Regions from separate parts of the Homo sapiens genome. Here regions 1 and 3 are each linked to region 2. The links are contacts of gene promoters, found by promoter capture Hi-C in blood cells and fetal thymus (Javierre and others, 2016). All regions are on one chromosome and are shown on one strand. The core of a region is centred on a gene start or on the middle of the fragment in contact, and the rest is flanking DNA. Distances in the headings are between cores, read along the strand shown. Region 1 overlaps CASK (calcium/calmodulin dependent serine protein kinase). Region 2 holds the start of NYX (nyctalopin). Region 3 overlaps CASK (calcium/calmodulin dependent serine protein kinase).

What was found. The method cuts DNA at HindIII sites, captures the fragments that hold promoters and counts their contacts. A CHiCAGO score of 5 or more calls a contact.
Region 1: a contact is called between a fragment that was not itself captured here and the fragment with the promoter of NYX in region 2, in 1 of 17 cell types (neutrophils). The highest score is 7.1, in neutrophils.
Region 3: a fragment that was not itself captured here is called in contact with the fragment with the promoter of NYX in region 2 in 1 of 17 cell types (neutrophils); the score reaches 6.0 in neutrophils.

What each region holds. Positions count from the first base shown.
Region 1 is chrX:41,753,590-41,758,127 of GRCh38, forward strand. The region is part of intron 3 of CASK (calcium/calmodulin dependent serine protein kinase); the gene reads right to left. Among named protein-coding and RNA genes, the nearest start is that of GPR82, 32 kb to the left of the region's middle. The HindIII fragment of the contact is 7,541 bases long and covers 1-4,538 here.
Region 2 is chrX:41,445,544-41,450,370 of GRCh38, forward strand. It overlaps NYX (nyctalopin), which reads left to right and starts at 1,800. Exons shown (of 3, transcript NM_001378477.3): 1 at 1,800-1,973; 2 at 2,306-2,383. The coding sequence starts at 2,362. The HindIII fragment of the contact is 20,707 bases long and covers 1-4,827 here.
Region 3 is chrX:41,709,564-41,714,182 of GRCh38, forward strand. The region is part of intron 5 of CASK (calcium/calmodulin dependent serine protein kinase); the gene reads right to left. Among named protein-coding and RNA genes, the nearest start is that of GPR82, 12 kb to the right of the region's middle. RefSeq lists enhancers at 1,948-2,448, 2,449-2,949. The HindIII fragment of the contact is 3,582 bases long and covers 942-4,523 here.

The DNA.
Region 1 (4,538 bases), core at 345-2,844, 310 kb after region 2:
AAATGATTAATAAAGGCCAGGTGCAATGGCTCATGCCTATAATCCCAGCACTTTGGGAGGCCAAGGTGAGAGGATCATTTGAGGCCAGGAGTTCGATATCAGCCTGGGCAACACAGTGAGACTCCTTCTCTACTAAAAATTTAAAAATTAGCTGGGCATGGCAGCACATGCCTGTAGTCCCAGATACTCCAGAGGCAGAGGTGGAAGGCTTGATTGAATCCAGGAGTTTGAGGCTGCAGTGAGCTATAATGGCACCACTGCACTCCAACCTGGGCTATGGAGCAAGACCTCATCTCTAAAAAAGTAAATAAATAAATTTTAAAGCAATTAATAAATCTAGAAAATTCCTAACATTTGGAAACTAGACAATATACTTTTATTACATGTATCTCAGAATAAATCATTAGAAAATATTTTAAACTGAATAATAATAACAGTAAACACATCAAAACTTGTAAAATGTAGGTAAAGCAGTACTTAGAGGGAAATTTACTGCTATAAATGTACATATTAGAAAAGAAAGGCTGGCCAAGTGCAGTGCCTCACACCTGTAATCCCAGCACTCTGGGAGGCTGAGGTGGGAGGATCACTTGAGCCCAGGAGTTCGAGACCAGCCTGGGCAATATAGTGAGACCCCCATCTCTTCAAATAATAATAATAAAAATATTAGCTGGGCATGGAGGGGCCTGTTGTCTCAGCTACTCAGGAGGCTGAGACGGCCAAATTGCTTGAGCCTGGAAGGTCAAGGCTGCAGTGAGCCATGACTGCACCACTACACTCCAGCCTGGACAACACAGTGAGACCCTGACTCAAAAAAAGAGAAGGGCTAAACATTTAAGAACTAAACATCTACCTGTATAAGTTACATAAAGATCATCAAATTAAATTCAAAGAAATTAGATGAAAGGAAATAGAAGCAGAAATTAATGAAATGGAAGACAAACATATTCAAGAAATTAACAAAGCTAAAAGTTGTTCCCTGTGAAATGATGAATCTCTGGCAAGACTGATAACAAAAAGAAAAGAGAAAAGACACATATAGCACCCAGTATTAACAATGAAGGAGATATCATTTCATATGCTGCAGAAATAAAAGATGATACTGAAACTTTATGTCACAAATTTAAAAATGTATATGAAACCGACAAATTCTCAGAAAAATAAAACTCACCAAAATTAACAAAAAGAATTAGAAAACTTGAATAATCCTTTACTGATTCAAGAAACTGAATCAGTAATTTAATCTTCTGAGACAGAAAACTCTAGGCCTAGATGCCATTTCTGACAAGTTTTTTTTTTTTTTTTTTTGAGATGGAGTCTCGCTCTGTCACCAGGCAGGAGTGCAGTGGTGCCATCTCGGCTCACTGCAACCTCCACCTCCCGCGTTCAAGAGATTCTCCTGCCTCAGCCTCCTGAATAGCTGGGACTACAGGAGTGCACCACCACACCCAGCTAATTTTTGTATTTTTAGTAGAGATGGGGTTTCACCATGTTGGCCAGGATGGTCTTGATTTCTTGACCTCGTGATCTGCCTGCCTCGGCCTCCCAAAGTGCTGGGATTACAGGTGTTAGCCACTGCACCCAGCCCATTTCTGACAAGTTCTATTGAACATTCTAAGGAGAAATAAAAGAATAAAAAGCAGGAATAGTTTCCAACTCACTTTATGAAAATAGTTTAATCCATATACTAAAACCTACTGTGGACAGTATGAGACAATTAAAAGACAACCTCACTAAAGAACATAGATGCAAGTAACCTAAACAAAAGTTTAACAACCCCAAACAGGCAATATATAAGAATTACACCAGGTCCAAATTGAGTTTACCCGAGGAATGCAAAACTTTTAACATTTGGAATTAATATAATTGTGTACACTGATAGATTAAAGATGAAAGATTATGTGGTCAGGTCAATAAATGTCAAAACACTTAAAACTATGTATTTGTGATTAAAAAACTTAAAAAACTCTTAGATCAGGAACAAGCCAAGAAAGTCCACTCTAACAATTTAAACTCAATATTATTCTGGAGGTCCTAGCCAGGGCAGTAAGGCAAGATAAAGAAATAAAATGTATGAGAATAGAAAAGGAAGAAACAGTCACTAATTACAGATGGTATATATAGAATATCCAAAATAATCTAAGTTAAAATTAGAACTAAGCAGAGTTCAGCAAAATCATTGTAAGTTATATGAAATTTTAAAAGAGTGTTTCTTTAAGAATGTAGAAATAAATCTAAAAGAAAGGTATATAAGATCTCTGTGGAGAAAAGTATGATTTTTTTAAGAGAAATTAAACAAATGAAATAAATGGAGAGAAAATTATCCTGTTCACTGACAAGAAGACTCAATATTGTAAACAGCCGATGTCTTCCAAGTTGAAGCATAGATTCAACAGAATTTGAATGAAAATCCCAACAGGTTTTGTGGAAACTCTAAAGCAGAATCTAAAATGTATATGGAATTGCAGAAGGCCAAGAAGACTCAAGATATTCTGGAAGAATAACACCTCTTGGAGTTTTTGCTGTACTTGATTTCAAAATTTAGCCCCCACCTCCATGTCCACAGGTACTATGTATGGAATGTCCTACAAAGCTCAGTAATTAAGTGTATGATATTGACACTAGGACAGACAACAGCACAGTAGAACATAACAGAGAGCCTAGAAACATAACCATACATACATAGAGGCTTGATTTATGACAAAGGAGGATACTGGGCAAACACAGTCTCTTCAAAGAAATGTGTGCTTATGTGGACCAGGATATGTGTACCTGAATGTTTATAGCAGCATTGTTCACAATGGTCACAAACTGTGAACAACCCAATGTCCATCAATAGTAGAATAGATAAAATGGGTATAGAATACTATATAGCAATGAAAGGAAATTAATTACAGCTACACAAAGGAATATGGCTGAATCCTGAAGACAAAATACTGAGTGAAGCAGATGTAGCCAAACCTAAACTGCTTGGTTTATTTTATATACAGTTCAAAGACAGAAGTAACCTTATTTTGCTGTAATAAATAATTAAAGCTAGCATTTATTGAGTGCTTACTACGTGAAAGGTATTTTCTAAGTCCCTTATATGCATTAACTCATTCAATGTTTACACGAGAAGTCTACGACATAGGTATTATGACTACCTCCCCTATTTTACTTACGAGAAAACTGAGAAACAGCAAAAGTTAAGTAACTTGACCAAGAGATCACACAGCTTGTAAGGGGTAGAGCCTGGATTCTAACTCAGGCAAGCTGACTTACAGTCCATGCATTATCCTCCACAAAATGCTCAGGTTACAAAGAGGGAAACTTCCTCACTTCTGCTCCAGGCTTTCAGTTACTTAATGGAAGACAAGAGATTACAACTAAGTAGGTAAAATCATAATGTAAAGAAAGGCTCCATATGTGAAATCCATTTTCATGCCTATTATGGGGGCCCCATGTTCCAGAACCATATAGGGGGATTTTTAAAATACAGAGCCTATGTCCCCATCTTTCCAGATGATACATATGAATACTATATTATTGATATAATTTAAATGAATTGTCTATATTTAGTAAGTTTGTTGATAAATGCTGTAATCCTTGCATACACAAATCAGTCTTTTTTAAAAAAATCTTTAATTCTGTTTTTTTTCTAATTCAGGGCTTTGTTTGTGGTACTGTTTTGATGTCTTCACAAATGTCCCATAACTACCATCTTTTCCCAACACTTTTGCATTCTTTATGCTCCTGCCTGGGATGTCCTTTCTTCACCTTTCCACCCATCTGACTCCTACACTGGTGCTGATGCCCTTTATCAACTTCCTATAAGCCTGTCTGCCTATTCTAGCTCCTAACTGTTTCTTCCAATGAACTTATGAGGCCCTAACAATCTGTACCTCTCTACGGTCATTTAGACCTACACTACAAGTTGTTTGTTTGTGTGTACGTATGTATTTATTTATAAGTCAATGAATGGCAGTCTTGCTCTGTCACCCAGGCTGAAGTGCAGTGGTACAATCATAGCTCACTGTAACCTTGAAGTCCCAGGCTCAAGTGATTCTCCTGCCTCAGCCTCACAAGTAGTGCTACCATGTCTGGCTAAGTTTTAAATTTTTTTGTAGAGATGGAATCTTGTTATATTGCCCAGGCTGGTCTCAAGTGATCCTCCCACCTCAACCTCCCGAAGTGTTGGGATTACAGGCGTGAGCCACTGCACCTGGCAGTTACTATTATTTATTTCATGGGTAGGTGCCTTCTGGTCTGTACAATTGTCTATAGACAAATAGAGAGCATAAACAGGTATTTTGTCTTCAGCATACTATCCCACATATTGATGAATATATACAAATATTTGTTGGTGGCGAATTCATTTCTGAAAGAAAGGAGTCATGTACGCATAATCTTTTTCACCCTTTCCCCATCTAAACTACTCCGTATTTGTGGGGGGATTATGTTTCATTCAGTATTCAATCATTAAACATCTACTATTTGTAGAGGATAGAAGGACCAGTTACATGAAGATCCCATCTTCTAAGAGCCTACATTACAGA
Region 2 (4,827 bases), core at 550-3,049:
CTTGGGAGAAATGTTTCAGTTCACAGGTGGAGAAGAAGGTCTTCCTTAGTGGGATCCCAGTGCCAGAGCACCAGGCCCACTGGCCTGGAGAAGATTGAAGGGAAGGTTGGACCAATAAGCTGCGAACAAAGGTTGTGGGTGCAGACAGGTTGGCTCTTACAGTCGAGATTCAGCCTCTGGACTGCTGCTGGGGGAGTGGGGGCTTCGTTGGGCTAAGGCTTGGGGTGATGGCTACAGGGACACCTCCGACACTGGTGGTCACAATGAGAGGGCTGCCCACTGCTCTCATCTAATAAGCCAGGCGAGTCCAACACTGGGGATAGAGATGTCATTTGAGAGGCCTCCCCCACCCACATCCCTACCCCATCCCTAGTATTCTCTTCTTTCCAGCAGGTTAGACAAGTTCAGCCACATTTTGGCTTTCAAGGCTCAAATGGAAGAAAACAAAAATTCCCCAGGGCACGGTGGCCTGAGATGTCTAGATTCACATCCAGAACCCTTTCTGTGGGAAGGGAACTCCTGGCTTCCTTTCATCAGCACTGGCTCACCAAGTCCTGCGTGGCCAGAACTTGGCAGGTTGCCATGGATACCTGGAAGTGCTGTCCCAGCAGACAGCAGAGGCTTGCTGGGGCCAGGAGAATGTGGGGGCACCTGAACTGCTGGCCAGAAAGGCTAGATAAACAGGCCCCCCTGCCACCCTCATTTTGATCAGACCCCCTCCACCAGTCTCCTAAAACAGGGCTTTCCAAACTTTACCGGGCACAGGAATCCCCCTCTCCGCCGACCTAGTTAAAATGCAGATGCTGGCCGGGCGCGGTGGTTCACGCCTGTAATCCCAGCACTCTGGGAGGCCGAGGCGGGTGGATCACAAGGTCAAGAGATCAAGACCATCCTGGTCAACATGGTGAAACCCCGTCTCTACTAAAAATACAAAAAATTAGCTGGGCATGGTGTAGTCCCAGCTACTCAGGAAGCTGAGGCAGGGGAATCGCTTGAACCCAGAAGGTGGAGGTTGCAGTGAGCCAAGATTGTGCCACTGCACTCCAGCCTGGGCGACAGAGTGAGACTCCATCTCAAAAAAAAAAAAAAAAAAAAAAAAGCAGATGCTGATTCAACAGGTCTGGGGCGGGGGGTAGAAGGCGCTGAGATTCTGTTTTCCTAACGAGCTCTCAGGTACTGCTGCTGGTCCACCGGCCACACTGAGTAGCCAGGGCCTAAACTGAGTCCTGGTGGGTTTCAGAAACCTCAGCCAGATTCTGAAGGTCCCATTCCTGGACCCACTGCCTTAGGCCACCACTACCAGCCCTAACCCCAGTGGGAACCTCTTGCCTTCTTGTAGTGGAAGGACTCTCTCCAGTCCGTTTTTGTATCATTCACCATCAACCACTTCAAAGAAAGGAAATCAGCAGCCGGCATTTTGGGGAAACATTTTAAGCTGTCCTGTCCCTTCTCCAGCTCTCCAAGTTATATAATGCGTCCTTGTTGAAAATGCTGATAATGCTGTTTGGGTGGCAGGAAGCCAATTTCAGGCTACATATTGCTTGGGGCTGGGGCTGGGGTCAGGGAACGGGGCAGGGTCTGGGGAAGGTTTAAGGAGAGAAAGGGGCCAGGCAGATGGAGAGAGGACAGGAGGGCCAGGGTGGTCAAGGCCCGGGGATAAAGCCGATTGGTATGTCAGCAAAATCTGTCACTGGCTTTAGTGATTCGAAAGGCAGACACATTCTTTCATCTCTGTTAATCCTCATGTGATACAGAGGATTTTCCTGCCATTAAATCTGGAGAAAGAAAAATAAGCACTCAAACCTGCACAAGTAACTATTCCTCTTCACCCCTTCCTCCCGTCCCCCCACCCCCACCTTTACTTCTCTCTCAAACCATTTTCAGCATCTGTGGCTGCCTGACTTGGGAGATGGATGGGCTGAGGGAGTGGAGGGGGACCTCAGAGGAGCAGGACCAGGGAGACTCCCAGGACGGTAAGCAACATTTGAGGACCATTCACTAACGCTTCTCTGCAGGGGTTTCCTCTCCATCCATTTCCTTGCTGGGTTGTCAGTGATGCCATCTGAGTTGCTGTCAGGGCTGTAGCCTGACAAAGGGTTTCCTAATAGATCCAAACTGTCCATTTGTGGGGAGCTTCTGATTTTCTGTTGTTACTGGTTTCCCTTAGCCCAACACCAGGGTCATTAAGAAGGAAGGAATGTGAGGAAGAAAGAAAGGCAGGGCATTCAGGAAGAAGTGTGGAGGCATGGGAGGGTTCTCATGGGGCCCTCCTGGGCACTGGGTGACCTGTCCTTTCTCCCCTCAGGTAGGGGTCCCACGGCTGGGTGGTCCTAAGCCACTGGGTGGATGAAAGGCCGAGGGATGTTGGTCCTGCTTCTGCATGGTGAGTTCTCCTGCCGGTGGGTGCAAGGGTTGGGAAGAGGGGTGGAAGCCACAGAGCTTCTGCCCAAAGAGTCTTTAAAGTGGCTTCTGGGACAGCGGTATCTGGACACTTCTGATCAGGTTTCACTGACCCTGTGATCGTGGGGGAGGGGATAGAGAAAGCAAGAAAACAGCAGGTGGTGGGGATTTTTGTTTCCTAAAAACAAAACTCCTGAGCCGAATATATGAAATAGTCCTCTTGGTGATTTTCTTATTCTAATTTCAGATATGAATTCATTGGTGTGATAACCAAAAGCTACAGTGCTACAGTGTTTTTTTGTTTTGTTTTGTTTTTGGAGATGGAGTCTCGCTCTGTCACCCAGGCTGGAGTACAGTGGTGCGACCTCGGCACACTGCAAGCTCCGCCTCCCGGGTTCACGCCATTCTCCTGCCTCAGCCTCCCGAGTAGCTGGGAGTACAGGTGCCCGCCACCACGCCTGGCTAATTTTTTGTATTTTTAGTAGAGACGGGGTTTCACCATGTTAGCCAGGATGGTCTCGATCTCCTGACCTCGTGATCTGCCCGCCTCGGCCTCCCAAAGTGCTGGGATTACAGGCGTGAGCCACCGTACGGTGGTTTTTTCTTTTCTTTTCTTTTCTTTTTTTTTTTTTTTGAGACAGAGTCTCACTCTCGCCCAAGCTGGGGAGCAGTGGCATGGATCTTGGCTCACTGCAACCTCCGCCTCCCGGGTTCAAGTGATTCTCGTGCCTCAGCCTCCTGAGTAGCTGGAACTATAGGCACCTGCCACCACGCCCAGCTAATTTTTTGTATTGTTAGTAAAGACGGGGTTTCGCCATATTGCCCAGGCTGGTCTTGAACTCCTGACCTCAGGTGATCTGCCTGTCTCGGCCTCCCAAAGTGCTGGGATTGCAGGCATGAACCACCGTGCCCAGCCTACAGTGGTTTCTAATCACATTATTTTAAGCTCATTTAGTTAAAAACAAAAGTCCCTTTAAAAAACCACCTTCCTAAAGGAAAAAGAAAAAATGAAAAATGCCTTGGAATTATAGGATTATGGATATTGAAGTTATTTTTCAAAGTTTCTCGCTCTGTTATGTGCACTTTAATATACCAAGAAGACTCGTTATGAAATATTTTCCCTGGCTCTAGCTGTTCCAATCTGACTGAGATAGCCCAAGGAAAAATCCTTTAAATTCTTCAGTAAATGATTCTACACAAAGAATCTGTTTTTTTCTGACCCTCAAGTGAATTTAATTATTTGAGATATGATGATCTATGTAATAGACCTCTGTATGCGATGCTGATAGAGAACATTTTACCAGATCATCTAAAACAGGAGTAATGGAGTTTTCTTCCTCTTTATTCCACCTTTTCAAAAACCGGAACTTGCTCTGTTCAGTCAACCAACAGGCATACACTGTGTGCCTTCAAAACGCTCGAGAGATATTTATGAGGGATATAATAGCATGCTCTTTGTCTTTGAGAAAATTCTTTTATAAGAGATTCAATAAATAAGCAATAAAAAAAATTGGAGCAAGGCACGTGGAACACTGTGATAAATAGGACATGACTTCCTACCTCGAAGAGGTTCTAAAGAACAGAGGTTGATATTTATATAATTACTAACAGTCAACTTCTTGCCATTCCTCCTACCTTGAAAAAAAAATGAAACTTGATTGACTCATTGGGGCACAATGTTTGCTTCCAACAGCCAGTATCATTTTAAACGTGCACCAAAAGCTCTACCGTTCCTCACAGAAAGCAGACCGTATTCATAGCCTGCACACTTCAAAACAGGAACTGTCCCTGCTACAGAAACCCGAAATATATCCAGACTTCTTGTGACAAGTTGGAGAGCTCAGCGGTGACATCATTTGCTAACAATAGATGCACTTAAAATTAATGACCATCTCCACATCCCCTGGCACTTTAATTTAAAACACACTCTAGCAAGCACAGAGAATATTTCTCTGACTGCGAGTCACAAGCAATACGGACAATATGTTCCCGAGAAGCAGGCAGGGATAGTGCTCTACCTCCTTGGCCAGAAAGAAAATGACTAAGTGAGCCTCACAAAACAACACCTTGGAGAAATCAGAAGTGGCTCGCAGCAGGGAAATTTGGGGCAAGAGAAATTCTCCTCTGGACACACAGGGCTCCTGGAAGTGCCCCACTTCTCAGATGCATAAGTGCAAATACCTCCACCTCCTCCCCCCATGTTAACCCCTGGGGTCTTCCCGCTGTTCACAGCATAATATCTGAAACCCTTAACTTCTTTTACAGGGTCTTTCACATGTGACTTCCTCTACACTGAGTCTTCAAAGAGAGTCAGGGGTTGTGTGTTTGTGTTTTTTGTGTGTGTTTCTTTTGAGACAGGGTCTCGCTCTGTTGCCCAGGCTGGAGTGCAGTGGCATGATCTCAGCTCACTGCAACCTCTGCCTCCCG
Region 3 (4,619 bases), core at 1,483-3,982, 260 kb after region 2:
TTTATCACTGTAGGCAAGTTATCCTCTGTGGACCCACATCCATCATCTAGAAAGTGACAGTAATAATAGAATCTATCTCAGAGATATTTCTAAAATTATATGAATATATATATAAAAGCAGATCAGTGGCTGTCACTTATTATTATTAATTTTCTAAATGTGGTTCTCAGAGAAACCTGTGACTTTCATGCTTGGGGCGCTTAAGAGAAAATGAATACAGACACTAATGGGTATAGGAGGGAAGACATGAGATATTCAATTCTTCTTTCTCTTCCCTTGACATCTATCTCTTTTTTTCCCCTTGATTAAGGACAGGAAGTTACATGGAGCAGGGGACTTCACCTTAAGACAATTGTATCTAGAAATTCAAAAGAAGTGATTGGTAATAAAATGGCCAGGAAACCTTGGCCCTAGAAAGAGACAGTGAAGTGGAGAATTCTGGGCACTGATATATGATGCCTTTTAAATTCGCTAAATCTCACTGCAATCCAAGTCACTGTTTCCCAGGGTATAGATTTTGTGTGTGTGTGTGTGTGTGTGTGTGTGTGTGTGTGTGTGTGTGTGTGTGTTTTGTACCTGGGGTGATACAATGGAACAGCATTATTTTTGGAATTCTATCCTCAACTGCTTTATTCATAGAAATCTTTATCTACTTTTGGCTTTTTAAAGAATCTACAGAAAAGAATGGTTAGTTCTGAAGCATAATATGAACCAAGTTTGACTGATTTGAAGATGTCAAAATTCAAAATTTGTCCCTCAAATATATTTTTGCCTCACGTAATTCAATGCTAAAGTTTCTCCCCTATTCTAAACCTGCTAATTTCCTGTCTGCTTTTCAACTACCACCCCTGAAATGATTCCAGTTCTTATGACTGCCACTGAAGTCGCTAGAGTTTCTATGCTGTGCATTCCTAAAAGACAATGTTTAGCCAGCACACTCAAGCTTATATGAAAAGCCAAAAGCCAAAGCTGAAGGATAGTGAAACTTTGATGATCAGGTCTGTGATACTATAAAATATATATTTGGTCTTCAACCCTCTTTCCAGGCATACAACTGCTAAAATCCTTAGAAACTCCAGAATGATGTCTTTTTGTATGCTAATGGTTGACTGATGGCTGGAACCCTTAGGTAGTTTCAGGATGAGGCTGGTAGCCTTGAAAGACTAGGCAGGATTAGAGGGTTGGGACATTAAGCCCCATCCCCAACCTCCAAGGAGGGGAGAGGGGCTGAAGGTTAAATTAATCTCCAATGGCCAATCGTTTAACCAATCATGCCTACATAATGAAGCCTCCATAAAACCGCAAAAGGACAGTGTTCGGAGAGTTTCTGGATAGCTGAACTTGTGGAGTTTCCCAGATGGTGGTGCCTCTGTCCAGAGAGGACAGGAAAGCTCCGTGCCCCAGGATTATGCATCTTTTCATCTGTATCCTTTATAATAAACGGGTATATGTAACTGGTTCCCTGAGTTCTGTGAGGCGCTCTAGCAAATTAATTGGGCCCAAAGAGGGAGCCGTGGGATCCCTGATTTATAGCTAGTCAGTCAGAAGCATAGGTGACACAGCCTGGGGCTAGCCATTGGCATCTAAAGGTGGGGGCCAGTCTTGGGGACTAAGCCCTCAACCTGTGGAATCTGATGCTATCTCTAGGTACATAGTGTCAGAACATAACTGAATTAGAGGACACCTAGCTGGTGTCAACTGCAGAATTGCTTGCTTGCTTGTTGGTTGGGGAGAAATCCCCACACATTTGGTCACAGAAATCATCTGTGTTAATTGTTGTTGAAAGAGTAGAAAAGTACTTTGTGAGTTTTGTTTTCCTTCCAAACTATGAATTGGTTTCAGTGAGGTAGGGTTTGCTAGAATGGACTTGGCTCACAGAAACATGTGGTTTGGGAAGAGAAAGAATGAAAGTGACAGCAGCAGGAGGCAGACAAAATGCCTAGACAGATAGGGGCGAGTCCTCAGTGAAATTGACCTTCAAGCTGAAGACAGTTTAAAGCCTACCTACATGTCCCGGGTAAATCCATGGACTGGATTGAGAACCTGTCTTCCTGTTTGGTGTGCTTTCCTCTGATTGATCCCCGCCCCTCACCTATTTTACATATACCTACCCTTCCCTAATTGGTTTTCTACACTGTTGTGCCCACCTTTGAGTGGTGTCTTCGCTTTAACCTTTTCTGCATACTCACAAACCAATCAGCACACATGCCCCATTCTGAATCCATAAAATACCATGGACCCAGCCACACTGAGAGAGACAAACCACCCGACTGCAGGGGTGGGGGGGCCACCCGTGTCCCCTCTCTGCTGAAAGCTGTTCTGCTGCTCAATAAAATTCTTCCCTACCCATCCTCACCCTTCAAATTGTCAGCGTATCCTCATTCTTCGTGGATAAGGACAGGAGCTTGGGAACTGCTGAACGCAGGTACAAGCCATAGCACAGGTGGGGTGAGTGGGCCTGACGCCTCAGCAGGCCCATGGCCAAGCAAAGGCCAGGTAGGGGGGCGTTGCTGGCCATGGAGGTCCCTGATTGGCAAAGTGGCCAAGAAAAATCCTGCGTCAAAAAGGTGGGAGATGAGGAATCTTTGATTCCTGGGTGGCCATGTGGTTTCCCACTGTTTTGAGCTGCAGCTGTGCTGCAATCAGCTACTAAAGGTAAAAGTTACTGGTGGAATTCAGAGATGGATGCAACTCCCGGGGAGTTGGTTCACTGGTTGCATGAGGGTATGCAGACTAATATGAAAAAGTGAAATACTAAATTCTTTGGTGTTTATCTCTAATAGCTAAATGAAATTAAAGGAGAATGCTAGGTTAGACTTTGTCTGTCTGAGCCCAGGCCACTAGCCTCAAAGCTGACCCCCAAGGAAAAATTATGCAAGGACACTGAAGTACCTTTACGATTGAAACTGCCTTTGCAAAACTGTAACTAAGGAAATTATGACAGTGAAAAATATCAGACCTAACCAACTCCATCTTGCTTCTAACCTCTAAACTGTCCTTGTCCATTACTGGGCATAGGCCAAACTAGCCTTGGGAAGGAATTTAATTTATAGTTTAAATAATAGCCCTTCCCAAAAGCTAAACTGTTCTTGTAAAACGAATGAAAGGCCACCAGCCACCAAGTACGGATGAGAGGGGCTGGAATTCTAAATGTTACCAGCCATTATTCTGGAGGTCATAAGATTTGCAACTTACATCACTATCGTGAACCTAAGATTGGCCTTTTGAGATATCTTTTCAGGTATTTGCATTTCTAACAACTGGATGGCCCCACCTGGACCTGCCAACCAGTTCTGTGGCCCCCTACCCAGGAACTGAATCAGCATGAGAGGACAGCTTTGACTCCCTATGATTTCATTCCAGAGCCAACCAATCAGCACTCCTGATTCACAGCCCACTACCCACCAAATTATCCTTAAAATCTCTGATCCCCGAGTCTTCTGGGAGACTGATGTGAGTAATAATAAAACTCCGCTCTCCTGCACGGCTGGTTCTGCGTGAATTACTTTTTTTCTATTGCAATTTCCCTGTATTGATAAATCAGCTCTGTCTAGACAGCGGGCAAGATGAACCCACTGGACAGTTACACAACCTGTGGTTATCAAGAAGGGTAGTCAATGTGGGGAAAGGGTAAAACTGATAAACTATTGAAACTGGAGGGTATACTGTGAAGGAACTGTCAGAGCAGTTTCTTTGGTTTTAAATGCTCAAGAGTGGAAGAGCATGTTTGGTTGAGGTAGGACCTGCAGTTCATTATTGAACAATCACAGATGGAAAGGTAGATTTCCAGACACACAGGAGGTTATTTCCAAGGGAATGGCCAGCGTGGTGGACTGGACCTGTTTACCCTGAGAAGGGGACTGTCCAATTTCACCTATAAATGCCAAGTGGTGTACCCTGAAGCAGCAGCTCATTTGCTTCCTATGTAGACCATGTGGGACTGGCTTTATGATGACTGAGATATTCACTCACTGAATACATCCATTACTCTGGCTGTAGTAAATGCTATGGCTAAGGGAGCCTCTTTTGTATGGGCACCAATGAAAACATGAGCGTAATTAACAAGAGACTGGGGAAAGGCAGAGGGGAGAGTCACAGGACTCATCCCAGGAAGGTGGAAAGTCTAAATGGTTATTGAGAAATAAGGTGAATGAAGAAAACATTGATGGGGTGAAACTAAGAGGAAAAAGAAAGGAGAGTCATGGGACTCATCTAAGCAGGGTAGAGTCTTTAGAGGGCTATTAAAAAATGGGATGAATAAAGTGGAAATCGATGGGGTTAAAACAAAGGTCATCACTATAGAAGGTTGGTAGGGAGATTCTGCTGTTCTCCTAACGGTAAGAGGATCCAAACAGGTTTGGTGTATTTATCCCAGTTAGGAGAAATTGAAAAAATGAGAGGAAGAGATTACAATGAGAAAGCTGACCAACAATTACTTGGAGCAGTGTTGAGGCAGGTTAATCAAGACAAAGATTGACAAAAGGGCTAAGGTCCCTTGGCTCAACCCTCTGCTGGGGATTCAAAGCTTTTTTCTAAGGAGAAAATGGTAAAATGGTCTGGGAGTGAAGAAGAGAAATTCTGGGACTGGGACAGAAAGTAAGGGTTGGTAGGAATACGAG